4 separate regions of the Homo sapiens genome follow, and regions 2, 3 and 4 are each linked to region 1. The links are contacts of gene promoters, found by promoter capture Hi-C in human tissues and cell types (Jung and others, 2019). All regions are on one chromosome and are shown on one strand. Each heading gives the region's core, a stretch centred on a gene start or on the middle of the fragment in contact. The rest is flanking DNA. Distances are from core to core; before and after follow the strand shown.

Region 1 (6,876 bases), core at 4,341-6,840:
CCAGAAGCCAGCGCTGGGCGCCGCGTGACAGTTGCCAGGCTGCCAGACACAGGGAGGCCCCAGGTTGCCAGGTTTCCACTGTGCGTCCTCAGGCTACCGGTAAACACTCATCCCCAGGTGTGGCCAGCTGGGCTTCATGGGAAGGCAAAAAAGTGGGCAGCAGCTGAGGCAGAGGGGCAGAACCCTCAGACCTGGGGGAAGGGCAGTCGTGACCCCCTATGCACCACCAGCCTCAGGACCCAGTCCAGAAGAACCTGTGTGTCAGGGGAGGGCGCCCCACCTGTGTACTGCCTCCAGGGTGTTAATACCTCCCTCCTAGGGACCCTCAGAGCAAGCAGGGAAGACAGGGTGGGGAGACACTGGGAGGACAGGGTGAGGAGACTGCCTACCAAGGAGTTCAGGAAATTGCAGGCAGCAGAAGGGGTAGGACAGAGGAGGGGTTGTGACCTGCAGAGGGGCTGGGCTTTAGCAGGACCAGAGGGGGTGCCCAGGGGATATGTCCCACCTTGGGGCTGGGGGCACTGGGCAGGGAGTCAAGTTTGCAGGAAGCTTCGCAGAGGGTGACGCAAAACAGGAGCGTGGTCTGCACTTGGTTGGGCATTAAACTCCACGTTGATGAGTTAGTCAATCCCACTAGCAGGCAGACTGACATGTGGGGGATGTCAGCAGCAGGGGCCCAGACCTGTGGACCCGAGGGGCAGAGGTCAGCACCCTCCTCGGTGCAGCTAACCCAGGAACTTGCCTCAGTGGCCAAAATTGCTCTCTTGCCCTCAGTTCTGTAAATGGCCCATGTCCATCAGTATCTATGGTTGTGTGCCTGTCCTGTCTTCCAACCCACATCCATGTAGGGACCCTGAAGCTGGACCAGTGAGTGATTGGGTGAAGGCTGGCTAGCCCGTAGGAGGTCAGGCTCACAGAGGCAGCTCATGGAGATCCTTGGAGGGGCGCACCTTACTCCTGCTGGCCCTGGAGGGGCTGGATTACTCCTGACGTAGAGTTCAACTCACCTTACCCTGGAGGCCATCCAACCAGAAATGAAGTCAGCATGAAACCAGGCCTTACCCTCCCTCCAGATCTGTGGAGGGTGTGGGCTAGGGTCACATGACCTGCCTGGTGCCACACATTCCCAGATGGCAGTCAGGGGTCCTCGCTGGTGCTGCTGGACATGAGCAGACTCTGGCCCCATGTTTAAGATCCCAGTGCCATTGGGCGTTGGCTCACGCCTGTAATCTCAGTGCTTTGGGAGGCCAAGGCAGAAGGATCACTTGAGTCCACGAGTTGGAGACCAGCCGGCACAACACAACAAGACCCCATCTCTATAAAAAATAATAAAAAAGGGCCAGGTGCGGTGGCTCATGCCTGTAATCCCAGCACTTAGGGAGGCTGAGGCAGGCAGATCACGAGGTCAGGAGGTCGAGACAACCTGGCCAACATGGTGAAACCCCGTCTCTACTAAAAATACAAAAAATTAGCCAGGCGTCGTGGTAGGCGCCTGTAATCCCAGCTACTCGGGAGGCTGAGGCAGGAGAATTGCTTGAAATCGGAAGGCAGAGTTTGCAGTGACCCAAGATTGCGCCACAGCACTCCAGCCTGGGCAACAAGAGCAAAACCTCCGTCTGGAAAAAAAATAAAAAAAATAAAAAAATAAATAAACAAGATAATAAAAGAACCTGGCTCTTGTCCACAGTCATTAACAGTGACAGTCTTGGGAGACATTTAAACAGCTCTGAGTGTGCACAGAACAAAAACCAGGTTAATTTAGTTAAGCAACTGTATAGAGCACCCTTGATATAAGTGACCTCATCTGAGAAAAGGACTCCATCTTATGTATTTTTTTTTGAGATGGAGTTTTGCTCGTTGCCCAGGCTGGAGTGCAGAGGTGGAGCCATCTCAGCTCACTGCAACCTCCGCCTCCCGGGTTCAAGTGATTCTCCTGCCTCAGCCTCCCGAGTAGCTGGGAGTACAGGTGCACGCCACCACGCCCAGTTAATCTTTGTATTTTTGGTAGAGATGGGGTTTCACCATGTTGGCCAGACTGGTCTCGAACTCCTGACCTCAAGTGATCTGCCGTCTTGGCCTCCCAAAGTGCTAGGATTAGAGGTGTGAGCCATAGCACCTGGCCCCTGATGCCTTTTAAATTATAAGATAGGGCCAGGCAGGCGGAAGTTGCAGTGAGCCAAGGTGGCACCACTACTGCACTCCATCCTGGGCAACAAGAGTGTAACTCCACCTCAAAAAAAAAAAAAAAAAAAAAAAAAGGGTATCAGGCCAACAGGGACCAGATGTTTCCTCATCAGTAGATACTGCACCCACCCAGATAAAGACATAAACAAGACACTCTTACTATCAGTCCTTACCAGAGTACTCTATGGCCATGAAAAGAGCAGAACACCACCAGGTCAAAGTGGCCGTTTTACAGACAGTCTTGCTGTCACTTGTGAGAAGCCCTCCACATCTGCTGCTGCAGGCTCTGCCCACATCAGAGATGCTTCCTTGCCAGATTCTCCTTTTCGTTGAACTGGTTAACTTTTTTTCCTCTCCTCTTTCTCTTGATGTGGAATGTTTATAACATTTATGCAGTGGTCAAGTATACTATTATGTATGGTTTGTAATACTGACTGACTTAAGGAGAGACTTGAGCCTGTGTGCCCACAGCTGTGACTGCCAAGTGAATGGGAAGCACTAAGAATTGCCTCCTCGGGATCTCTAGTAGTATACATAACATGCTCCAGAGGGCATGGATTTGTCAGACTTTTTTTTTAAATAGGGTTTTTAAGAACAGTTTTAGATTTAGAGTAATTGAGAAGATAGTACATGGAGATCCCACATACCACATGTGTGGCTTCCCCTCTTATTAACATCTTACCTTAGTGTGCTACATATGTTATATATATATATATTTTTTTTGAGACAGAGTCTCGCTGCGACGCCCAGGCTAGAGTGCAATGGTGCAATCTTGGCTCACTGCAACCTCTGCTTCCCAGTTTCAAGCGATTCTTCTGCCTCAGCCTCTCGAGTAGCTGGGACTACAGGTACGTGCCATCATGCCCAGCTAATTTTTGAGTGAAAGCCAGTGCACCTGGCCCATTTGTTATGATTAATGAACCAATATTGAGACACAAGTAACTGAAGTCCACACTTTGACAGTTTCCTTAGGTTTGCCTCATGTCCCTAATGTGGTATCCATCAGAACACCCCATTACATTGAGTTATGTGTCTTTAGGCTCCTTCTCAGACTTTCCTCGTTTTTGATGACCTTGACAGTTTCGAAGAGTACTGGGCAGATATTTTGAAGAATGTCCCTCAATTAAAATGTGTCTATTATCTCCTGGTTAGACTGGGACTGCAGGTTACAGAAAGGAAGCATCTAGGGGTGAAGTGCCACTGTCACCCCATCACATCAGGGACACACACTGTCACCTCGACTATAACTGTGAGGCTGACCTGCGTCACTTGGCTGAGGTGGAGTCTGCCAGTTTTCTCCACAATAAAGTGGCTCTTTCCCTCCTTTTCTTTATTGCACTCTTTGGGAGGAAGTGGCTATGTGTGGTCTACACTTAAGGAGAGGGGAGTTACGTTTCCCTCCTTGAGGGTGAGTATCTACAAAATTTATCTGGGCAGCTTTTTTTTTTTTTTTTTTTTGAGTTAGGGTCTCAGTCTGTCACCCAGGTTGGAGTGCAGTGGTTGCCTGGCCTTGACAGCTTTTTAATAGTTTAAAATGAATTGAGGCTGGGCGAGGTTGCTCATGCCTGTAACTCCAGCACTTTGAGAGGCCAAGGCAGGTGGATCACTTGAGCCCAGGAGTTCAAGACCAGCCTGGGCAACACAGTGAGACCCTGTGTCTACTAAAAATACAAAAATTAGCTGGGCATGGTGGTGTGCCTGTAATTCCAGCTGCTCAGGAGGCTGACATGGAGAATCACCTGAGCCCGGGGAAGTTGAGGCTGCAATGAGCGGTGGTCTCACCACTGCACTCTAGCCTGTGTGACAGACTGAGACCCTGCCTATAAAAAAGAAAAGAAAAAAGAACTGAAATAAGACCCAAGTCCAACATTAGCAGAACCTCTCTAGGATGTCCACAGAAACGACTCTGGGGTTCTGAGGAACACAGTCTAGGCAAACCTGGGCACATCCCCTCAGTCCCACAGTTGTAAATGTATTGTAACACGTAACAGTTGTGAGATTCAGGCGCGGTCTGGGTCTCTGTTCCTGGAAAGTGTGATCCTGTGGGTGCAGCCCCTGCTCGCTTGGCTGTGTTGCCTGCCTGGCCCCTGCTCTAATGAGCCCACTGCCCAGAGTTTGCTCAAACCACCCAATTCCGAGTCTGGGAACCAGGAGACCGCTGGACACCCCGCTCACCACACAGAAGACTGTGGCCTGAGTCAGGAGAAGGAAGTTTCTGGCGGTCGAGCTTCCACGGCTTCCTGAGGGAGGTTGCAGGGAGCCGAGATCGCGCCATTGCGCTATAGCCTGGGCGTCGCAGCGAGACTGTCTCAAAAAAAGAAAAAAAATTCTGAGCGAGATTCCAGGGCTTCCTGAGGGCGCGTTTAAGTTGCAGTTGCTGAGGAGGCTGCAAGGTGAGCTTGCGTCAGCGAGGAGCCACTCCAGCACGCTCGGGAAGGGCATCGTTACTGCTGCAAACAAGCACACGGCCCTCCACGACGAACCTTTTGCAAGTGAAGGCGCACGAACAGGCCCGGAGGACTACAAAGAAACCCAGAAACCAGACTTGGACACATGAAATAAAGGGGTTAGCTGAAGGAATACTCCACAGTTAAGGACGGCCTGCGCGAGGTCACCGGCCCTGTCTTGGTTTTTTGCCACTTCGCTCCAGTTAGTTTCCCAAGTTCCACCTACGCGCGCGCCAGCTGAGAAAACGCCCACCCCGGCGGTCCCGCCACAGGTCACAGGCGGTGCGGACCCCGGGACTGTGTCCGGGCTTCGGTGTCCAGAGAGCTCCAAGACACCCAAACCTTCCGTGGTTTCCACCTCTGCAAGCTTATGTTCCGCTGAGCTCAAGCTGAGGGACGACGACCTCATGCGACGTCAGTTTCCCCCTGGGACCACGAACCCACGGCCCCATTTCTCTTCTGTCTACTAAAAACCTTTTCTTTTCTTTTTTTTTTGAGACCTAAGACATCAGTGAGACACACGAGCAGACACGGGCTCGGTCGGGAAAGGCGGGAGCTCCAAGCGGCGGGGCCTGCAGGTCCAGGCGGTTCGCGGGCTTTCTGACCGCATTCGGCCGAGTTCTTCTCTGAAGACCCAGGACCCCCGGCCGAGGGGGCGCATTCGGCGGGCTGGTGGCGTAGGATTTTGTTTCGGGTTCCCAGGGTCCCGGCAAGGGTGAGGGAGCCCTTGCGGATCCCCTGAGATCCACCTCAGCAGCCTCCTCCGTGGTAGGCCTCAACTTCCCGCGGCGGCCCACAGCCAACGACTAATGCCTGAGCGGGAGAAAACGGCCTGGCCCTGTCCGGGTGGTTGCTGAGCACCGTTCGGCGCCGCCCGCGCCTGCAGGGAGCCCGGCCCGCTGTCCTGGTGGACACAAAGCCCAGGGGCCGCCCGCGCGGGACCAGCAGCGCGAACTTTTTGCCGCTCGGCCAGCCTGGCAGGGGATTTTAAAATCGGCCAATCACAGCGGGCGCCAGGCCTCCGCTTTCCGCTTACTGGTCCTGCCGTAGGAGGCGGGTACGTGAGCGCACCAATCTGTGGCCGGCGAGCGTAAAGGGCGGGGCTCCGCCCAGGCTGCACCGCCCAGAGCGCGCGTGCGCGAGACCGGAAACGCAGCCCCCTGATTGGCGGCGCGTGTCGGGGGCGGGGCCGCGGCTGCGTGACAGTTGTCGCGGGGGGAGGGCGAGCCCAAGCGCGGGGGAGGGAGTGTAAATAGAGCGAAGGCTGCTCTGTGTCAGCCCCGTCACCGCCGGGCGGCCCGCGCGGAGTCTGAGGGAGATGGAAGTTGAGCAAGAGCAGCGGCGCAGAAAGGTGGAGGCCGGGAGGACGAAGGTAAACATTAGGGGCTTCTTCTCTAGCTGCTCTGGCGTGAAGTCCTAAGGGCGGCTCCGGTGCCCGCCACCGCCCCCTGCCAGGAGAGGACGCGGTCCGGCGGAAGCCGCCGCGGAGGTCTCGCTTTTTCCCGCCGGCTCCGCTGGAAGCCGCCTCCTGGCCGCCGCCATCTTGAATCCGCCGCTCTCCGCCAGGTCCCGCCCCCGCCGCGGCCACAGCCAATCAGCGGCCGGGACGCGCGGCGCCTCTCGGGCGGGCCGGGGCGGGGCTGCGCCTGCGTCGGGGGGGGTGGGGCGCGGGCTGGGCGCGGTGCACGCCGGGGCGGGGTGTGGCTGCAGGGCGGGGCTACAGGGGCGTGGCGTGGCTGCACGGAGGGGGTGGGGCGCGGCAGGCGCTGGACCCCAGGCTGGATCTTCCAGTGGCTCCCGCGTCCTCCGGGACCGGGTGGCCTGGGGCGGGCGGCCGGTATTCGGGTGGCTGCTTGGTCTAGGGCCAGTTTCCTGCGCGGCCGGGGCCGGGGGCGTGGCGCGGGTGGCCTGCAGCGCCTCCCCAGGGTGCGCCTTCGCCTCGTCCGTCGGAGATGCTTTCCCCGCGCGTTTCTCGCGGCGTTGCAGTCCTTACTGTGTGAAAGGCCCCCGCGGCGCTCCCGGCCGCCGTCTTCTTCCCGCGCCCTTGGGCTCGCGTCCTGCCCGTCCGGGCCTGGCGTACGCTGCCGGGAACCCACGCGGCGCTGGCGCCGGGCGCCTTCAAGGGACGCGCTCCCGTCTTTCTCCCGCCCCGGGTTTCTCCGTGAAAAAGCGCTCGGTTTGATGGCCACTGTCCTAGGTTTCGTGGGAATAAAGCGCGCAGAGCCCATGACTCGGGGGCAGGAGA
Region 2 (6,099 bases), core at 2,787-5,286, 260 kb after region 1:
TCTCTAATGATCAGCGATATTGAGCTTTTTTTCATATATTTGTTGGCCGCATGAATGTCTTCTTTTGACAGGTGTCTGTTCATGTCCTTTGCCCACTTTTTAATGAGGTTGGTTTTTTCTTGTATATTTGTTTTAAGTTCCTTGTAGATTCTAGATATTGGGCCTTTGTCAGATGAATAGATTGCAAAAATTTTCTCCCATTCTGTAGGTGGTCTGTTTGCTCTGATGATAGTTTCTTTTGCTGTGCAGAGGCTCTTCAGTTTAATTAGATCCTATTTGTCAATTTCCTTTTGCTTTTGTTGCAATTGCTTTTGATGTTTTCATCATGAAATCTCTGTCCGTGCCTATGTCCTGAATGGTATTGCCTAGATTTTCTTCTAGGGTTTTTATAGTTTGGGGTTCTACATTTAAGTCTTTAATCCATCTTGAGTTAATTTTTGTATAAGGTGTAAGGAAGGGGTCCAGTTTTAATTTTCTGCATATGGATAGCCAGTTCTCCCAGCACCATTTATTAAATAGGGAATCCTTTCCCCATTGCTTGTTTTTGTCATGTTTGTCAAAGATCAGATGGTTGTAGATGGGCAGTCTTACTTCTGGGTTCCCTATCCTGTTCCACCGGTCTATGTGTCTGTTTTTGTACCAGTACCATGCTGTTTTAGTTACTGTAGCCTTGCTGTATAGCTTGAAGTCCAATAGCATGATGCCTCCAACTTCGTTCTTTTTGCTTAGGATTGTCTTGGCTATATGGGCTTTTTTTTGGTATCATATCAATTTTAAAATAGCTTTTTTTCTAATTATGTGAAGAATGTCAATGGTAGTCTAATGGTAATAGCATTGAATCTATACATTACTTTGGGGAGTATGGCCATTTTCACGATATTGATTCTTCCTATCCATGAGCATGGAATGTTTTTCCATTTGTTTGTGTCTTCTCTGATTTCCTTGAGCAGTGGTTTGTAGTTCTCCTCGAAGAGGTCCTTCACTTCCCTTGTTAACTGTATTCCTAGGTATTTTATTCTCTTTGTAGCAATTGTAAATGGAAGTTCACTTAAGATTTGGCACTCTGCCTTGTCTGTTGGTGTATAGAAATGCTTGTCACTTTTGCACATTGATTTTGTATCCTGAGACTTTGCTGAAGTTGCTTATCAGTTTAAGAAGCTTTTGGAGGCTGGGCGTGGTGGCTCACACCTGTAATCCCAGCACTTTAGGAGGCCGAGGTGGGTGGATCACGAGGTCAAGAGATCAAGACCATCCTGGCCAACATGGTGAAATCCTGTCTCTAGTAAAAATACAAAAATTAGCCAGGCGTGGTGGTGTGTGCCTGTAGTCCCAGCTACTCAGGAGGCTGAGGCAGGAGAATTGCTTGAACCTGGGAGGCGGTGGTTGCAGTGAGCCAAGATTGTGCCACTGCACTCCAGCCTGGCAACAGAGCAAGACTCCGTCTCAAAAAACAAACAAACAAAAACAACGACAACAAAAAAAACCTTTTGGGCTGAGACAATGGGGTTTTCTGGATATAGGATCATGTCATCTGTGAACAGAGGCAGTTTGACTTCCTCTCTTCCTATTTGAATATCCATTATTTCTTTCTCTTGCCTGATTCCCTTGCTAGAACTTCCAATGTTATGTTGAATAGGAGTGGTGAGAGGGGGCATCCTTGTCTTGTGCCAGTTTTCAAGGGGAATGCTTCCAGCTTTTGCTCATTCGGTATGAAATTGGCTGTGGATCTGTCATAAGTGGCTGTTATTATTTTGAGGCATATTCCTTCAATATCCAGTTTATTGAAAGTATTAATGTGAAGGGATGTTGAATTTTATTGAAGGCCTTTTCTGTGTCTATTGATATAATCATGTGGTTTTCATCTTTTGTTCCATTTATGTGATGAATTATGTTTATTGATTTGCATATGTTGAACCAGCCTTGCATCCCAGGGATGAGGCCACCTTGATCATGGTAGGATAAGCTTTTTGATGTGCTGCTGGATTTGGTTTGCCAGTATTTTATTGAGAATTTTTGCATGAATGTTCATCAGTCATATTGGTCTGAAGTTTTGTTTTTTTGTTTTATCTCTGCCAGGTTTTGGTATCGGGATGATGCTCGTCTCATAAAATGAGTTAGGGAGGATTCCCTCCTTTTCTATTGTTTGGAATAGTTTCAGAAGAAATGGAACCAGCTCCTCTTTGTACCTCTGGTAGAATTCAGCTGTAAATCCTTCTGGTCCTGGGTTTTTTTTGGTTGGTAGGCTATTTCTTACTGCCTCAATTTCAGGACTTATTATTGGTTTATTCAGAGATTCAACTTCTTTGTGGTTCAGTCTTAGGAGGGTCTTTGTATTCAGGAATTTATCAGTTTCTTCTACATTTTCTAGTTCATGTGCATAGAGATGTTTATAGTATTCTCTGATGGTTGTTTGTATTTCCGTAGGGTCAGTGGTGATATTCTCTTTATCATTTTCATTGTGTCCATTTGATTCTTTTCACTTTTCTTTGTCTAGCTAGCAGTCTATCTATTTTATTAATTTTTTTCAAAAAGCCAGCTCCTGGATTCGTTGATTTTTTTTGAAGGGTTTTTCACGTCTCTGTTTCCTTCAGTTCTGCTCTGATCTTGGTTATTTCTTGTCTTCTGCTAGCTTTGGGGTTTGTTTGCTCTTGGTTCTCTAGTTCTTTTAGTTGTGATGTTAGGATGTCAATTGGAGATCCTCCTAGCTTTTTGAAGTGGGCATTTAGTGCTATAAATTTTCCTCTTAATGCTGCTTTAGCTGCATCCCAGAGATTCTGGTATATTGTCTCTTTGTTCTCATTAGTTTCAAATAAGTTCTTGATTTGTGCCTTAATTTTATTGTTTACCCAGGAGTCATTCAGGAGGAGGTTGTTCAGTTTCCATGTAGTTGTGTGGTTTTGAGTGAGCTTCTTAATCTTGAGTTCCATTTTGATTCTGCTGTGGTCTGAAAGACTGTTATAATTTCAGTTCTTTTGAATTTGCTGAGGAGGGTTTTACTTCCAATTATGTGATCAGTTTTAGAGTAAGTGCCATGTGGTGCCAAGAAGAATGTATATTCTGTTGCTTTTGAGTGGAAAGTTCTGTAGATATCTATCAGGTCTACTTAATCCAGAGCTGAGTTCAAGTTCTGAATATCTTTGTTAATTTTCTCTCTTGATGATCTAACTAATATTGACAGTGGGGTGTTAAAGTCTCCCGCTATTATTGTGTGAGAGTCTAAGTCTCTTTGTAGGTCTCTAAAAACTTGTTTTATAAATCTGGGTGCTCCTGTATTGGCTGCGTATATATTTAGGACAGTTAGCTCTTCTTGTTGAATTGAACCTTTTACCATTGTGTAATGCCCTTCTTTTTTTTAATCTTTGTTGGTTGAAGATTTGTTTTGTCAGAAACTAGTATTGCAACCCTTGTTTTTTTCTGTTTTCCATTTGCTTGGTAAATTTTCCTCCACTTCTTTATTTTGAGCCTCATGTGTCTTTGCATGTGAGAGGGGTTTCTTGAATACAGCACACTGATGGGTCTTAACTGTTTATCCAGCTTGCCATTCTGTGTCTTTTAATTGGGACATTTAGTTCATTTACATTTAAAGTTAGTATGGTTATGTGTGAATTTGATCCTGTCATCATAATGCTAGCTGGTTATTTTGCAGACTTATTAATGTAGTTGCTTCACAGTGTCACTGGTCTGTGTACTTCAGTGTCTTTTTGTACAGGCTGGTAATAGTTTTTCCTTTCCATATTTCATGCTATCTTCAGGAGCTCCTGCAAGGCAGGCCTGGTAGTGATGAATTCCTCAGCATTTGCTTGTCTGAAAAGGATTTTATTTCTCCTTCATTTATGAATCTTAATTTGACCATATATAAAATTCTGGGTTGGAAATTCTTTTCTTTAAGAATGTTGAATATGGCCTCCAATCTCTTCTGGTTTGTAGGGTTTCCACTGAGAATTCTGTTGTTAGTCTGATGGACTTCCCTTTGTAGGTGTCCTGGCCTTTCTCTCTGGCTGCCCTTAACATTTTTTCCTTCATTTTGACCTTGAGGAATCTGATGATTATGTGTCTTGGGGCTGATCTTCTCATGGAGTATTTTACTGGGGTTCTCTGGATTTCCTGAATTTGAATGTTGGCCTGTCTTGCTGGTTTGGGTAAGTTCTCCTGGATGATATCCTGAAGTATGCTTTCCAACTTGGTGCCATTCTCCCCATCTCTTCCAGGTACCCCAATCAGTTGTAGGTTCAGTCTTTTTACATAATCTCATAGATCTCAGAAGTTTTGTTCATTCCTTTTCATTCTTTTTTCTTTAATCTTGTCTGCCTGTCTTATTTAAGCAAGATAGTCTTCAAGCTCTGAGATTCTTTGTTCCACTTGGTCTATTTGGCTATTGATATTTGTGGTTGCATTGTGAAGTTCTCAAGTTGTGTTTTTCAGCTCCATCAGATCATTTATGTTCCTCTGTAAACTGGTTATTCTGGTTAACAGCTCTTGTAATGTTTTATCATGGTTCTTAGCTCCTTTGCACTGGGTTAGAACATAACTCCTTTAGCTCAATGGAGTTCGTTATTACCCACATTCTGAAGCCTACTTCTGTCAGTTCATCCATCTCAGCCTCTGTCCAGTTCTGTGCCCTTGCTGGAGAGGTGTTTCAGTCATTCGAAGGAGAAGAGGCACTCTGGCTTTTTGAGTTTTCAGCGTTTTTGCATTGATTTTTTTCTCATCTTTGTGAGCTTGTCTACCTTTGATCTTTGAGGCTGCTGACCTTTGGATGGGGTTTTGTGGGGTCTTTTTTTGTTGATGTTGTTGTTGCTTTCTTTCTTTTAACAGCTAGGCCCCTCTTCTGTAGGGTTGCTGCAGTTTGCTGGGGGTCTACTCCAGACCCTATTCACCTGGATCCCTCCTGCACCTGGAAGTGTCACCAGTGGAGGCTGTAGAACACCAAAGATGGCTGCCTGATCCTTCCTCTGGGAGCTCAATCTCAGAGGGACACCAACCTGATGCTGGTGGGAACGCTCCCGTATAAGATTCCTGACAACCCATGTTGGGGGATCTCACCCAGTCAGGAGGCTTGGGATCCGAGGCCTGCTTAAAGAAGCAGTCTGGCTGCCCCTTGGTGGAGTGGGTGCACTGCACTGGAGGGACTCCTCTTTGTCCAAACTGCCCAGCCTCTTCAGAACCAGCAGGCAGGAAAGATTATGTCTACTGAGTTGTGGAGATCACAGCTGCCCATCCCCCTAAGGACTCCATTCCAGGGAGATCAGAGTTCTGTTTGTAAACCTCTGGCTGGAGTTGCTGAAATTCCCACAGGGAGGCCCTGCCCATTGACGGGGAATGGATCTGGGTCCCACCTAAAGCAGCAGTCTAGCCATGATCTGCCACAGCCACTGTGCTGTGCTGTGGGAAATTCCTCCTGGTTCAAACTACCCAGTCTTCCCCGCACCAGCAGAGGAAAACGGCAGACTGGAGCTGCAGTGATGGTGGCCGCCCCTCCCCCTAGGTACTCAGTTGTCTTAGGCAGTCTCTAGCCAGCTGCCACTAGCTGCAACCTGAGCATCTGGACAGCTCTGTACTTGGGACCCAAGGCTCTGGTGGTTTGGGCTCATGAGGGGATTTCCTGATCTGTGAGTTGCACAGATCTGTGGAAAAAACATGGTTTTCCAGGCAGGTAGCACAATCAGTCACTGCCTCCCTTGGCTGGGGATGGGAGCTCCTCTTGCCCCATGGTGCTCCTGAGTGGTCCATCGCTCCACCCTGCTTTTCCCGACTCTCCATGGGTTGTGCCAACCACCTAGTCAGTCTCAATGAGAGAACCTGGGTACCTCAGCTGAAGGTGCAGGATTCACTCACCATTTTCATTCTTCTCAGTGGGAGCCACCAATGGCAGCTGCTTCTAGTAGGCCATCTTTCCACTTTGCTGGTAATTTTTTTAACAACCAAGTGAATATGCCAAATGGTAACTTGGATCCACAGAAAAAGCAAAGAGAACCAGTAAAGGTAAAGATAATTATATAATGGTAAGACTATAAATGCATTTTTCCTTAACATGAATGAATTAAACAGTTTATTAAAAAGGCAGAGATTGTCAGAAAACCTGTGTAAAAACAAGCAAAC
Region 3 (6,732 bases), core at 4,233-6,732, 290 kb after region 1:
AGTGCAAGAACCTTATAATAACAAAAATGAGATTTACCATCACTATTCATTCTCTGGTGCTCTTCCTTTCTTCATATAGACCTGAGTTTCTTTTTTAAAAATGTTTAAGTTCAGGGGTATATGTGTGGGTTTATTATATAAGTAAACTTGTGTCATGGAGGTTTGTTGTACAGATTATTTTGTCATCCAGGTATTAAGCCTAGTACCCATTCATTATTTTCCTGATTCTCTCCCTCCTCTCACCTTCCACCCTCCAGTAAGCCCCAGTGTCTGTTTTTCCCCTCTATGTGTCCATGTGTTCTCATCATTTAGCTCCCACTTATAAGTGAGAATATGTGGTATTTGGTTTTCTGTTCCTGCATTAGTTTGCTTACGATAGTTTTTGCCTATATTCCTGCAAAGGACATGTTCTTGTTCTTTTTTATGCTTGCATAATATTTCGTGGTGTATATGTACCACATTTTCTTTACCGAGTCTACCACTGACGGGCATTTAGGTTGACTCCATGCCTTTGCTACCGTGAATAGTGCTGTAATGAACATCCACATGCATGTGTCATTATGATAGAATGATTTATATTCGTTTGGGTATAGACCCAGTAACAGGATTGCTGGGTTGAGTGGTAATTCTGTTTTTATGTCTTTAAGGAATCACCACACTGTTTTCCACAATGGTTGAACTAATTTACATTCCCGCCAACGGTGTACAAGCATTCCTTTTTCTCCGTAACCTTGGCAGCACCTGTTATTTTTTTACTTTTGTTTTGTTTTGTTTTTTGAGACGGAGTCTCGTTCTGGCTGGAGTGCAGTGACTCAATTTTGGTGCAGCCCAGGCTGGAGTGCAGTGACTCAATTTTTGCTCACTGCAACCTCCACCTCTTGGGTTCAAGCAATTCTCCTGCCTCAGCCTCCTGAGTAGCTGGGATTACAGGCACATGCCACCACGCCCGGCTAATTTTTGTATTTGTTTAATAGAGATGGGGTTTCACCATGTTGACCAGGCTGGTCTTGATCTCCTAACTCAGGTGATCCGCCCACCTCGGCCTCCCAAAGTGCTGGGATTACAGGTGTGAGCCACCGTGCCTGGCTATTTTTTGACCTTTTAATAGTAGCCATTCTGACTGCTGGGAGGTGGTATCTCACTGTGGTTTTGATTTGCATTTCTCTGACAGTCATCAGTGATGTTGAGTTGTTTTTCACATGCTTTTTGGCCACATGTATGTCTTCTTTTGAAAAGGGTCTGTTCATGTCCTTTACCCACTTTTTAATGGGATTGGGTTTGTGTGTGTGTGTAGATTTGTTTAAGTTCCTTATAGATGCTGGATATCAAATCTTTGTCAGAGGCGTGGTTTGCGAAAATTTTCTCCCATTCTGTTTACTTTGTTGATAGTTTTTGTGTGTGTGTGTGTGTGCTGTGTAGAAGCTCTTTCGTTTAATTAAATAGATCACATTTGTCAGTTTTTGCTTTTGTTGCAATTGCTTTTGGTGTCTTTATCACGAAATATTTGCCCATTCCTATGTCCTTAATGGTATTACCTAGGTTGTCTTCCAGGGTTTTTATAGTTTTGGATTTTACATGTAAATATTTCTGTATGTTGATTGTCGTTCACAAACAGGGTTAGTCTGACTTCCTCTCTTTCTATTTAGATGCCCTTTATTTCTTTCTTTTGCCTGATTGCTGTGGCCAGGACTTCCAATACTATTTTGAATAGGAGTGGTGAGAAAGGGCATCCTTGTCTTGTGCCAGTTTTCGAGGGGAGTGCTTCCAGCTTTTGCCCATTTAGTATGATGTTGGCTGTGGGTTTGTCATAGATGGCTTGTATTATTTTGAGGTATGTTCCTTCAATATCTAGTTTATTGAGAGTTTTTAACATGAAATGGTGTTGAATTTTATCAAAAGGCATTTCAGCATCTATTGAGATGATCATGTGGTTTTTGTCTTTAGTTCTGTTTGTTTGATAAATCACATTTATTGATTTGCCTGTGTTGATCTAACCTTGCATCCCAGGGATAAAGCCTCCTTGATCATGGTGGATAAGCTTTTTGATGTGCTGCTGGATTCAGTTTGCTAGTATTTTGTTGAGGATTTTTGCATCAATGTTCATCAAGGATTTTGGCCTAAAGTTTTTTTTTTCTTGTTGTGTCTCTGCCAGATTTTGGTATTATGATGATACTGGCCTCATAGAATGAGTTAGGGAGGAGTCCCCCCTTCTCAATTTTTTGGAATAGGTTCAGCAGGAATGGTACTAGCTCTTCTTTATACTTCTGGTAGAATACAGCTGTGAATCCATCTGGTCCTGGACTTTTTTTGGTTGGTAGCCTATTTATTCCTGATTCAATTTCAGAGCTTGTTATTGATCTGTTCAGGGAATCAATTTATTTCTGGTTCAGTCTTGGGAGGGTGTATATATCCAGGAATGTATCCATTTCTTCCGTATTTTCTAGTTTGCATAGAGGTGTTCATAATATTCTCTGATGGTTATTTGTACTTCTGTAGGGTTAGTGGTAATATCCCCTTTGTCATTTCTGATTGTGTTTATTTGGATCTTCTCTCTCTTCTTCTTTATTAGTCTAGCTAGTGGTCTATTTTATTAATTTTTTTAAAAAACCAACCCCTGGATTTGTTGATCTTTTGGATGGTTTTTTGTGTCTCAGTCTCCTTCAGTTCAGCTCTGATTTTGGTTATATCTTGTCTTCTGCTAGTTTTGGGGTTGATTTGCTCTTGGTTCTCTAGTTCTTTTAGTTGCGGTGTTAGGTTGTTTGATTGCAAGCATTCTAACTTTTTGATGTGGACATTTATTGCTAAAAATTTCCCTCTTAACACTGCCTTAGCTGTGTCCAAGAGAGTCTAGTATGTTGTACCTTTGTTTTTATTAGTTTCAAAGAACTTCTTGATTTCTGCCTTAATTTCTTTATTTACCCAAAGGTCATTCAGGAGCAGGTTATTCAATTTTCATATAATTGCATGGTTTTGAGCAATTTTCTTTCTTTCTTTTTCTTTTTTTGAGATGGAGTTTTAGTCCATCACCCAGGCTGGAGTGCAGAGAGGCAATCTCGGCTCACTGCAACCTCCACCTCCTGGGTTCAAGCAATCTTCCCACCTCAGCCTCCTGAGTAGCTGGGATTACAGGCATGTGCCACCATACCTGGCTCATTTTTGTATTTTTAGTAGAGACAGGGTTTCACCATGTTGGACAGGCTGGTCTTAAACTTTTGACCTAAAGTGATCCATCCGCCTCAGCTTCCCAAAGTGTTGAGATTATAGGCGTAAGCCACCCCACCTGGCCTTGAGCAATTTTCTTGTGCTGTGGTCCAAGAGAGTGGTTGTTATGATTTTAGTTCTTTTGCACTTGCTGAGGAGTGTTTTATGTCTTATTATGTGGTTGATTTTAGAGTATGTGCATGTGGTGATGACAAGAATGTCTATTCTGTTGCTTTAGGGTGGAGAGTTCTGTAGATGTCTATCAGGTCCATTTACTCCAGTGCTGAGTTTAGGTCCTGAATATCTTTGGTAATTTTCTGCCTCAATGATCTGTCTAGTACTGTCAGCAGGGTGTTGAAGTCTCCCACTATTATTGTGTGGGAGTGTTAAGTCTCTTTGAAGTGCTCTAAGAACTTGCTTTATGAATCTGGGTGCTCCTGTGCTTGGTATAGATATGTGTGTGTGTGTGTGTGTATATATATATATATATATATATATTTAGGATAGTTAGGTCTTCCTGTTGAACTGAACCCTTTAGCATTTTGTATGCCCTTCTTTGTCTTTTTTGAGTTTTGTTGGTTTAAAATCTTTTTTGCCTGAAATTAGGATTGCAACTCCTACTTTTTTCAGTTTTCCATTTGCTTGGTAGATTTTTACCCATCCCTTTATTTTGAGCCAGTGGGTGTCACTGCATGTGAGATGGGTTTCTTGATGACAGCATACTATTGGGTCTTGGTTCTTTATTGAGCTTGCCACTCTGAGTCCTTTAAGTGGGGATTTAGCCCATTTACATTCAAGGTTAGTATTAATATGTGTGGATTTGATCCTGTCATCATGATGTTAGCTTAGACCTGAGTTTCTAAAATATCATTTTTCCTTTCTCTGGAGAACTTCTTTTAACATTTCTTCAGATTTATTAGCAACAATGTTTGTTTGTCTTAGAAAGTCTATTTCTCCTTTACTTTTGAAGGACAGTTTTGCAGACCGCAGAATTCTAGGTTGGTGGGTGTATTAGTCTGTTCTTACACTGCTAATAAAGACATACCTGAGACTGGGTAATTTATAAAGGAAAGAGGTTTAATTGACTCACAGTTTAGCATGGCTGGGGAGGCCTCAGGAAACTTACAACCATGGCAGAAGGGGAAGCAAACACATCCTTCTTCACATGGAGGCAGCAAGGAGAAGTGCCGAACAAAAGAGGAAAAAGCCCCTTATAAAACCTTCAGATCTCATGAGAACTCACTCACTATCTTGAGAACAGCAGCGTGGAGGTAACTGCCCCCTATGATTTAATTACTTCCCACCAGGTCCTTCCCATGACACATGGGGATTACAATACAAGATGAGATATGGGTGGGAACACAGCCAAACCATATCAGAGGGTTTATTTTTACAACACTTTAAATATAACCATGTGTCATGTAACAACATTTTGGTCAATGGCAGATTGCATATGCGATGGTAGCCTCATAGATTATAATGGAACTGAAAAATTTCTATTGCCTAGTGATGTTGTAGCCATCAAAACATTGTAGTGCAATGCATTACTCATGTGTCTGTGGTTATAGTGGTATAAACAAACCTACTGTGCTACCAGTCACATAAAAGTATAGTACATCAAATTATGTACGATACGTAATACTTGACAATGATCATAAATGACCATCTTACTGGTTTATGTATTTACTATACAATACATTTTATTATTTTAGATGGTACTCTTTCTATCTATCTATCTATCTATCTATCTATCTATCTATCTATCTATCATCTATCTATCTATCTATGTAAAGTTAGTTAACAGTTAGTTACCAGTAAAATAGCCTCGAGCAGGTCCTTTGGGACATATTCTAGAACAAGGTGCCGTTATCATAGAGAATGACAGCTCCATATGTCTCATTGTCCTTGAAGACCTTCCAGGGGGAAAAGATGTGATGTAGAGGTGGAAGACAGTGATATTGATGGTTCTGACCTGTGTAGGCTTAGGCTAATGTGTTTGTGTTTCAGTTAAAAAAAGAGTTTAAAAAGTAAAAAATTTAAAAATTGTTAAAAATGGAAACAAGCTTATAGATTAAAGATATAAAGAAAGAAAATATTTTTGTATAGCTATACGATGTGTTTGTATTTTAAGCTAAGTGTTATTACAAATGAGTCAATGAGAAAAAAAGTTTATAAAGTAAATAAGTTATGGTAAGCTAAGTTTAATTTATTATTGAAGAAAGAATAATTTTGTTTTGTTTTTGTTTTTGTGACAGAGTCTTGCTCAGTTGCCCAGGCTGGAGTGCAGTGGTGCAATCTTGGCTCACTACAACCTCCACCTCCCAAATTCAAGCGATTCTCCTGCCTCAGCCTCCCAAGCAGCTGGGATTACAAGCATGCGCAACCAAACCTGGCTAATTTTTGTATTTTTAGTAGAGACGGGGTTTGACCATGTTGGCCAGTCTGGTCTCGAACTCCTGACCTCAAGTGATCCACCCACCTCGGCCTCCCAAAGTGCTGAGATTACAGACTTAAACCACCATGCCCGGCAAGGATATTTTAAATATTTTAAAATAAATTTAATGTATGACTGGCTGCAGAGGCTTAAGCTTCTAATCCTAGCACCTTGGGAGGCCGAGGCAGGAAGATTGCTTGAGTTCAGAACAGCCTGGAGTTCAAGAACAGCCTGGGCAATGCAGCGAGACCTTGTCTCTAAAATAAATAAATAAATAAATTTAGCACAGCTTAAGTGTACAGTGCTTATAAGCCTACAGTAGAGTACAGTGGTGCTTATAAGTCTGCAGTAGAGTACAGTAATGCTTGCAAGCCTACAGTAGAGTACAGAAATGCTTATAAGTCTGCAGTAGAGTACAGTAATGTCCTGGGCATTCACACTCACTCACCACTCAAGCACTAACTCACCCAGAACAACTTCCAGTTCTGCAAACTCTGTTCATCGTAAATGCCTTATATGGGTATATCATTAAAAATCTTTTATATCATATTTTTACTGTACTGTTTCTATGTTTAGACATAAAAATACTTACTATTGTGTTTCATTGCCTACGGTATCCAGTAGTAACATATTGGACAAGTTTGTAACCTAGAAGCAACAGGCTGTATCATACAGCCTAGGTATATAGCAGGCTGTACCAGCTAGGTTTGTGTAACTGCACTGTATGATGTTTGCGTAAGGACAAAATTGCCTAATGAAACATTTCTCAGTATGTATCCCCATCATTAAGTGATATATGACTCTATTTCATTCCATCTTCTTCTCGCTTGCATAGTTTTTCAGGAGAAGTTAGATGTAATTTTTATCTTGCTTCTCTATGGTAACGTGTTTATTTTCTCTGGTTTCTTTTGAGATTTTTCCTTTAACTATGATTTTGTGAAGCTTGAATGTGATATGCCTAGTTTTGGGGGAAGGGCATTTATCCTATTTGTGTTCTCTGAGCTTCCTGGAGCTGTGATTTGGTGTCTCACATTAATCTTGGGGAAATTCTCAGTCATTATTGCTTCACATATTGCTTCTGTTCCTTTCTCTCTTTC
Region 4 (6,424 bases), core at 2,786-5,285, 270 kb after region 1:
AGACTTGGCCAGGTGCGGTGGCTCATGCCTGTAATCCCAGCACTTTGGGAGGCCGAGGTGGGCAGATCACAAGGTCAGGAGATTGAGACCATCCTGGCTAACACGGTGAAACCCCGTCTCTACTAAAAATACAAAAATTAGCCAGGCGTGGCAGCATGCGCCTGTAGTCCCAGCTGCTGGGGAGGCTGAGGCAGGAGAATAACATGAACCCGCGAGGCGGAGCTTGCAGTGAGCTGAGATCGCACCACTGCACTCCAGCCTGGGCGACAGAGCGAGACTCCATCCAAAAAAAAAAAAAGGCCCCGGACTCAGCCACACTTGCAGGGACTGCCCACCTTCAGGCACAGGGAGGACTACCTGATTTTGGGTAAGGGTAGTGCACCCAACTCGTGTCCCCCTCTCTGCTGAGAGCTGTTTTGTCACTCGATAAAATTCTCCGCCCTGCTCACTCTTTGGTTGTCTGCATAACCTCATTCTTCTTGGACGCGGGACAAGAACCTGGGACCCGCTGAACAGCAGGTGCAAAAAGGAGCTGTAACACTGTAGCCCTCCTTTACTCCCCTGATGCCAGCTGGCCCATGCAATGGGAGTGTTGGTGGGGCCAGGCCAGCCTGGGAGCCATGGGCCAGAGTGGGGTGATGGGAATAACTGAACAGAGGTCCTGCTGGCTAAAGAAGCTTCCAGCTGGCAAAGCAGCAACAACAACAAAAATCCTGCATCAACCTCGGTAAACACAGAAAAAGCTTTTGAAAAAAATCCAAAACCCTAAGAATATAAGGGAAATTTACCTGATAAAGGGCAACTACAAAAACCCACAGTTAACATACTCAATGGATACTTAATGGATCCTTCCTCACAACTGAGATCAGGAACACCCAGGGGCTGGGGATTTCACAAGATGTGAAGACCAGTAGGAAAGGGTGGGGTGCACTTTAGTGCACTATCTGCACACCACCCAACACTCCTACTTTCTTGAATGAGGAGACTGCAGTCCAGAGGGGCCTGGCTACTGTAAGCCTGGGCAAAGGCAGTGATGTCCCTGCTCAGGAATCCTTGGGTATTAGAGAAGCTGAGGCCTTTTCCACTCTCTGCCTTGCACAGTCAACTCTTGAGTGAGGGGGCTGGTACACCCAGAGGATGGTCACAATTCCTCTAGAGGTATAATCTAGGCAGACAGTGCTGTCTTGCTGATCTGGTGTTATTAACTTCCCTGAGGAAAAAAATCACCTGAATTCTTGTTTGATCAGTCTCACAGCTAAAAACCCCAGGGAGTCATGGTCCCACTTCAGACCTGGGGGGCCTGGTACTTGGGATATGTAGCAAGATCCCAGCAGAGTTTTGTGCAGTGAGCTGTAGGGGGCCATGGGACCCAATATGCCCTCTGCAGTGTCCCCCACCCCCTCACAGAAGAGGAAAAGTTCAGGAGTGGCCTCCTGAACACCTGAGACGCACCTCAGGGATCTGTATTTTAAATTAGGGGTGCTGGGGTAAGAAGACATAAGAAAAGCTCCTTCTAGCCCAGCCAAGTCTGGCCTCCTTCCTGCAAGGTTTAGATCCTGGGGGCTTTGGGCTATTTTCCTGAGAAGAATGCCAACCTCATCCTCAGCTCTCTGCTCAACATCCAGCCCTGTGTAAAAGCTCTAGGCTTGCCTCATGCTAACTTGCTTGAATAATGTGTATTTTCTGCACTCCTTCAGAGAGAGGCCAGCCCTTTTCTCCCTAAATGCAGTGAAAGGAGGTTGTGCCATTGTCTTGCCTGCCAGGTTGCTGGTGGACATGGCTGTAAGGGTCATAATTAAGGGGGGTCTCAGGACAGAGAGGCCAGGCATCCCTTGTGCTCACCCACCTGGTCCCCAAGGCAGCCCAGTTCTTGGTAAAGAAATACTGCCAGGCAATAGCTGGGCTCTTGTGGGACAGGGCTAGTGGAACCTACTTGGGTGTCTCCATTGCGAGCAGAACGTAATAGCTGTGTGTAGAAGGTCCCACTGGATGAAGGGCCAGTGGAACCTTCCTCTGATGCCCAAACACTTCCATCTATCTGCAATTACAAAAATCTGATTTGTGTCTGCACAAGATAAGGGTGGAATCCCTAAATTTAAGAACCCCAAAACAAAAGCAAACAAACCAAGGTGTCTCCCACAACTTCCTACGAAGTTTCCAAACTCTCTCCAGGGTCTTGGCTGGGGGCATGTGGGTTCAAGGGCCCCCATTTTGCCTTGGAGACCAGGATGGGGCCTCACAGGGCAGAGCTGCAGGGAACAGTAATGGGCCCATGGGCTCACAGGGTGTCATGCTGTGGAGACAAACTGCCCATAGTGGAGATACCCAAGTAGGGCCCCAGCCAGCCTGGGGGAAATTTGATTCCCTTGTTGGTTGCAAGAGGAGCAGGGTCTGGCTGAACAGGCCTGGGGCCCTGCAGAGGTGGGGATCTGGAACAGTAGACAAGAGAGAGCCAGAGCTTGACAGAGGGCCAGGGGAGCCCAGGATCACCAACTCTCCACTTCCGTCCTCACTGCTCCCTTTCCCCAGGCAGGGGCATGGGGTCAGGAGGGCACATAGTCCAGGGCTTGAGAGCCCAATAGCCTTCCTGCTGTCTCTGTCCCTGCTGGTGGGTACAGGTGGGGTATGTCCAGATACTGCCTGGGGGCCCAAGGCCTTACCCCCCGCAATCCAATTATTAGATGATGATTCCTCCTTTTGGTGGCAGGAAAGTCTGGCAATTGTGTTGCTTGTACTTCTGGCAGGGACAGCAGCCCCTGTAGAGGATGGTCCGCAGCGTCCAGAGATGGTGGGTTCCTGCAGCCCAACTTCTCAACAGCACCTTCTCACTGCAAGTCAACAAATGGGGTCCTCAGCTTGGCCCCAGGGTCTCCACCCTGAGAGACCAACACTGCTGGCAGGGCCAGATTTGCGAAGTGGCTGTGGCCCAGAATCTTGTGGATCAAACGGAGAAATTGATGGAGCACAGAAAATTTCTGTGGCTGAACTGGCCATGGAAATGGCAGCCTGGGCAACAGGTTCATGAAAACAGACTTTTCACACCTGGTCCTGCTCTCCAGGCCTGAGCGAACTCCATGTGTTCCTGGTCAAAGCTGGGGGCGGGTTTCCCCCACCCCCTTGCCCGGGCCCATCCCCTGTCCACCTGGGGATGCTGGAGGCAGCCTTTGGGGTAGGCCAGGCCTGTGCTGGCCACCAAGCTGTGGCGACTACCACCACCCACTCATGGAACTGGAAGGTGCCTCTGGGTGAGGGCGGGCCACACTCAGCTAGGGATTGCCAGGAGAGGACGGTTGGCATTTACAGCCTGGAACTAACGGCAGTTGATTGGATAAGTCCCCCCAGACCCCCTTTGGATGGTGGAGGAGCCCCCGTGTGCTCAGAAGCTGCCCTGGGAATCCCTGAGGGATGGTGCTGGAGCCAAGCTCCTTGGAGGACCAATGTTCTCCCTATCTGGTTTGGAAGCAGAGTAGGCTTCTGGGGACTTAGTCACTTTAGGATTCTTGGATCAGTGTGGGCAAAAGAGGCTCTGGAAGGGCCGATTCAACTTCCGGCCGAGGCGGCAGAGCATCCTCTGGGGAGGAATGCAGGTGGGAGGCGGGCACCCGAGCCAAGGGCAGCCCAGAGCTGCCCCCCGGCAGCAGCGCCCCTCCCGCCCCCCAACTTAAGGTCGCACCCTGGGCCTCCCAAGCTTGGTCTCCTGCCCGCCAGCCCAGAGCATGCACCAGGACCAGCTTTGCAGGGCCCGGTGCGAAATGAAAACATCGCCCTTTGGCCAAAAGTAACCACGAATTTCCAGAAGGCGAGAGCTGAGCGAGAAGTGAGCACAGGGCCCTGGGGACTCCCCAGGTGGCTAGATGTGAAGTGGCCTCGCTGGGTCCCCTCCGGCCTCTCCCAGGCCCCTCTCACCAACCCATCTCTCGGCCATCACAGCTGTGGTTCCTACCTCTGCCCCACCCAGCCTCGGGCCCTGCGAGCCTCCGGGCCTCCCACACTGCCTGGGACAGGCAGGACTTCCTGTTTTACCCGCTACTGTTCAGAAGGCACAGAGGGACCCTGAGGAACGTGAGCTTTCTGAGATGGAGGCCAAGGACCACGGGGAGCGCAGTGAACACCGGGAATGGGGCTGGTGGCCCAGCATGCATTGTGGAAAGGCACGTGACTGCCCGGGACCATTGGCAGCTCCCCTTCCTGGTGATTGGCTTAGGGAAGAACATGTGACCCAACAGGCCGGAAGTCCCCTGTGGAGTGGCTGGACGCCCCCGGGGAAGCCTCCCCCTAGCGGGGGCAGAAGGGAAGCCGCGTTTTTTGCTTGCGTTGCCTTTTGATGGCGCTGGATCGCTGTTGCTGCGCTTTTTTTTTTTTTGAGAAGGAGTCTTGCTCTGTCGCCCAGGCTGGAGTGCAGTGGCGCGATTTCGGCTCACTGCAACCTCCACCTCCCGGGTTCAAGCGATTCTCCTGCCTCAGCCTCCCAAGTAGCTGGGAATATAGGCACGCGCCACCACGCCAGGCTACTTTTTGTATTTTTGGTAGAGACGGGGTTTCACCATGTTGGTCAGGCTGGTCTCCAACTCCTGACCTTGTGATCCACCTGCCTCGGCCTCCCAAGCTGCGCTCTTTTTATTGAACGCAGGCCCTCGCGGTGGCTCAGAGCCCCCGGTAGTGCCCTCGGAAGCCGCATGTGCTGGAGGCACGTTGGAGGCAAGGATCCTGCAGCCGCGACTTGAATCGCATGGGTCACGGAGGCCACGCTGGAGCCCCCAGAGCTGGCTCGGATTGCGAGTTCTGATGGAGTTGCTTTTTCCAGGAGCGCTGCCAGCGCTGAGCGTTCACCTGGTGATCAGGCGCATCCCGGGAAGCAGGCCGAAGCCACCACGCCCTTGCAGGGCCACACCGGCCAACCAGCTGTTATCTGCATGGATGAGGAACGCATTTAAAGAACAGCAGTGTTTTCAAATAATGCTGGATAAGGCTTTGTTTTTTAAAGGTAGTGGAAGTTTTAAGGGTGCCCCGGGGTAATTTCTGTAGTCAGGGTTCCCTCCGGGTTAGGGTCTACACGGCCATGGCGGGCTGCACGGTGCACGCTTTATCACTGAGACCTGACTCCTAAGTTACTGTTAACAAGAGTCCCTGGGGCCAGTCAGCTTACACACAGGCCTAATATAGCAGAAAGAATGATGCAGGCCGTTAAAACAGCCTTTGGAAAGAGGTTTTCAATTTTTCAATCACAAAGCAAATCAAGCTTCCTAATTAGCTACAACACGGCTGGAAAGCTCAGCTCCTACTAGGCTGCAAGCCCTTGCTGTCTGCTTTCTTGCATGACCGTCTCTGTTACAGGAAAGGTTTGGCTGCTTTCTAATCTCACTCATGTTCAAAGAACTCGTGGCAGGCAGTAGTAACCATGGCAACAAAGGCCATGAATTCCTGGAAGTCACATTCGCCGTCTCCATCATTGTCCAGTGTTTCCATGACTTTGTCCACAACCTCCTGCTCTTTGATTTCCTAAGAGAGATAAAAGGAGTTGCCGACCTTGTTTTTAAATGGAATTTTGGACCATCAAAACATGATTAAAAGTTGAGTGACTCTGATAATTTGTGTCCGAAATAACCTAAGAACATCAAATGCAAAATATCAGAAAAGATGTCTCATGTGACCAGGGGGCTGTTGTCCAAGCAGAAATCTCTGGGGGTCAGTGTCTGGCCCTGAGCTACTGGAAAAGGCTGAATGGAACAGCCAAGAGGTGAAAAACTGAAGGTTGTTATCATACTTAAAATACCTGAAAAAAAAAAATACCATCTAGATCAGCCTGAGCAAATGTCTTGAAATAAAAATAAACTTTTGGCCCTCCTAAACTTTTCGTGTGTTCTGTGTGTGGAAGTCCCTGTCTCAAAGGCTTCCAGTGGAATTTAATGTTTTGAAAGTCTTCTTTGTTGCTGAAGTAACTCTTGGGAACGTGGCCTACATTTGTTAACCCTGTATTCTTTTTCCCACTTGAATTGCTTTCTAGGTGTCATGAAACTTTTTCCTGACAGTTCTGCCTGACATTGAAGCCAAATGAATGGTGTGGCTGTTAAGTGATGTGCACAGCCTCAGAGGAACAACCACAGTGCAGGGCTACAAACGTGGTGGGAAAAATTTGGGTATTGAACACTGATGAAGAGCATAAATGCAGAGTAACAATTCTCCGGGATAGGAAGGCTTGGCCTGAAGAAGTCAAGTGTAATGTACAACAGCTGCCTTGGCTATAAGACACACAGGGGTCAGGCACGGTGGCTCACACCTGTAATCCCAGCACTTTGGGAAGCTAAGGCAGGAGGATAACTTGAGCACAGGAAGTTTGAGACCAGCCTGGGCAACATAGGGAGACTCCATCTCTACAAAGAAAAAATAAAACAATTAGCTGGGCATGGTCCATGTGCCCGTATTC

The links. Contacts are between HindIII fragments. The study calls those that stand out against the background at their distance.
Region 2: a contact is called between a fragment that was not itself captured here and the fragment with the promoter of C21orf58 in region 1, in 3 of the 25 tissues and cell types used here (dorsolateral prefrontal cortex, mesenchymal stem cells and mesendoderm cells).
Region 3: a fragment that was not itself captured here is called in contact with the fragment with the promoter of C21orf58 in region 1 in 5 of the 25 tissues and cell types used here (H1 embryonic stem cells, dorsolateral prefrontal cortex, hippocampus and 2 more).
Region 4: a contact is called between a fragment that was not itself captured here and the fragment with the promoter of C21orf58 in region 1, in 9 of the 25 tissues and cell types used here (IMR-90 fibroblasts, aorta, dorsolateral prefrontal cortex and 6 more).

The regions. Positions count from the first base shown.
Region 1 is chr21:46,318,280-46,325,155 of GRCh38, forward strand. It overlaps C21orf58 (chromosome 21 open reading frame 58), which reads right to left and starts at 5,591. Exons shown (of 8, transcript NM_058180.5): 1 at 4,360-5,591. The coding sequence starts at 4,459. It overlaps PCNT (pericentrin), which reads left to right and starts at 5,877. Exons shown (of 47, transcript NM_006031.6): 1 at 5,877-6,003. The coding sequence starts at 5,950. RefSeq lists enhancers at 1-425, 426-1,260, 5,120-5,259 and silencers at 2,866-3,128, 5,610-5,939, 6,210-6,669. The HindIII fragment of the contact is 24,092 bases long and covers 2,774-6,876 here.
Region 2 is chr21:46,576,866-46,582,964 of GRCh38, forward strand. It overlaps a transcript of DIP2A not described here. Among named protein-coding and RNA genes, the nearest start is that of S100B, 25 kb to the right of the region's middle. The HindIII fragment of the contact is 8,435 bases long and covers 1-6,099 here.
Region 3 is chr21:46,612,848-46,619,579 of GRCh38, forward strand. No RefSeq gene overlaps it. Among named protein-coding and RNA genes, the nearest start is that of S100B, 11 kb to the left of the region's middle. The HindIII fragment of the contact is 3,662 bases long and covers 3,652-6,732 here.
Region 4 is chr21:46,594,005-46,600,428 of GRCh38, forward strand. It overlaps S100B (S100 calcium binding protein B), which reads right to left. Exons shown (of 3, transcript NM_006272.3): 3 at 4,600-5,499. The coding sequence ends at 5,359. Among named protein-coding and RNA genes, the nearest start is that of S100B, 7.9 kb to the right of the region's middle. The HindIII fragment of the contact is 6,650 bases long and covers 711-6,424 here.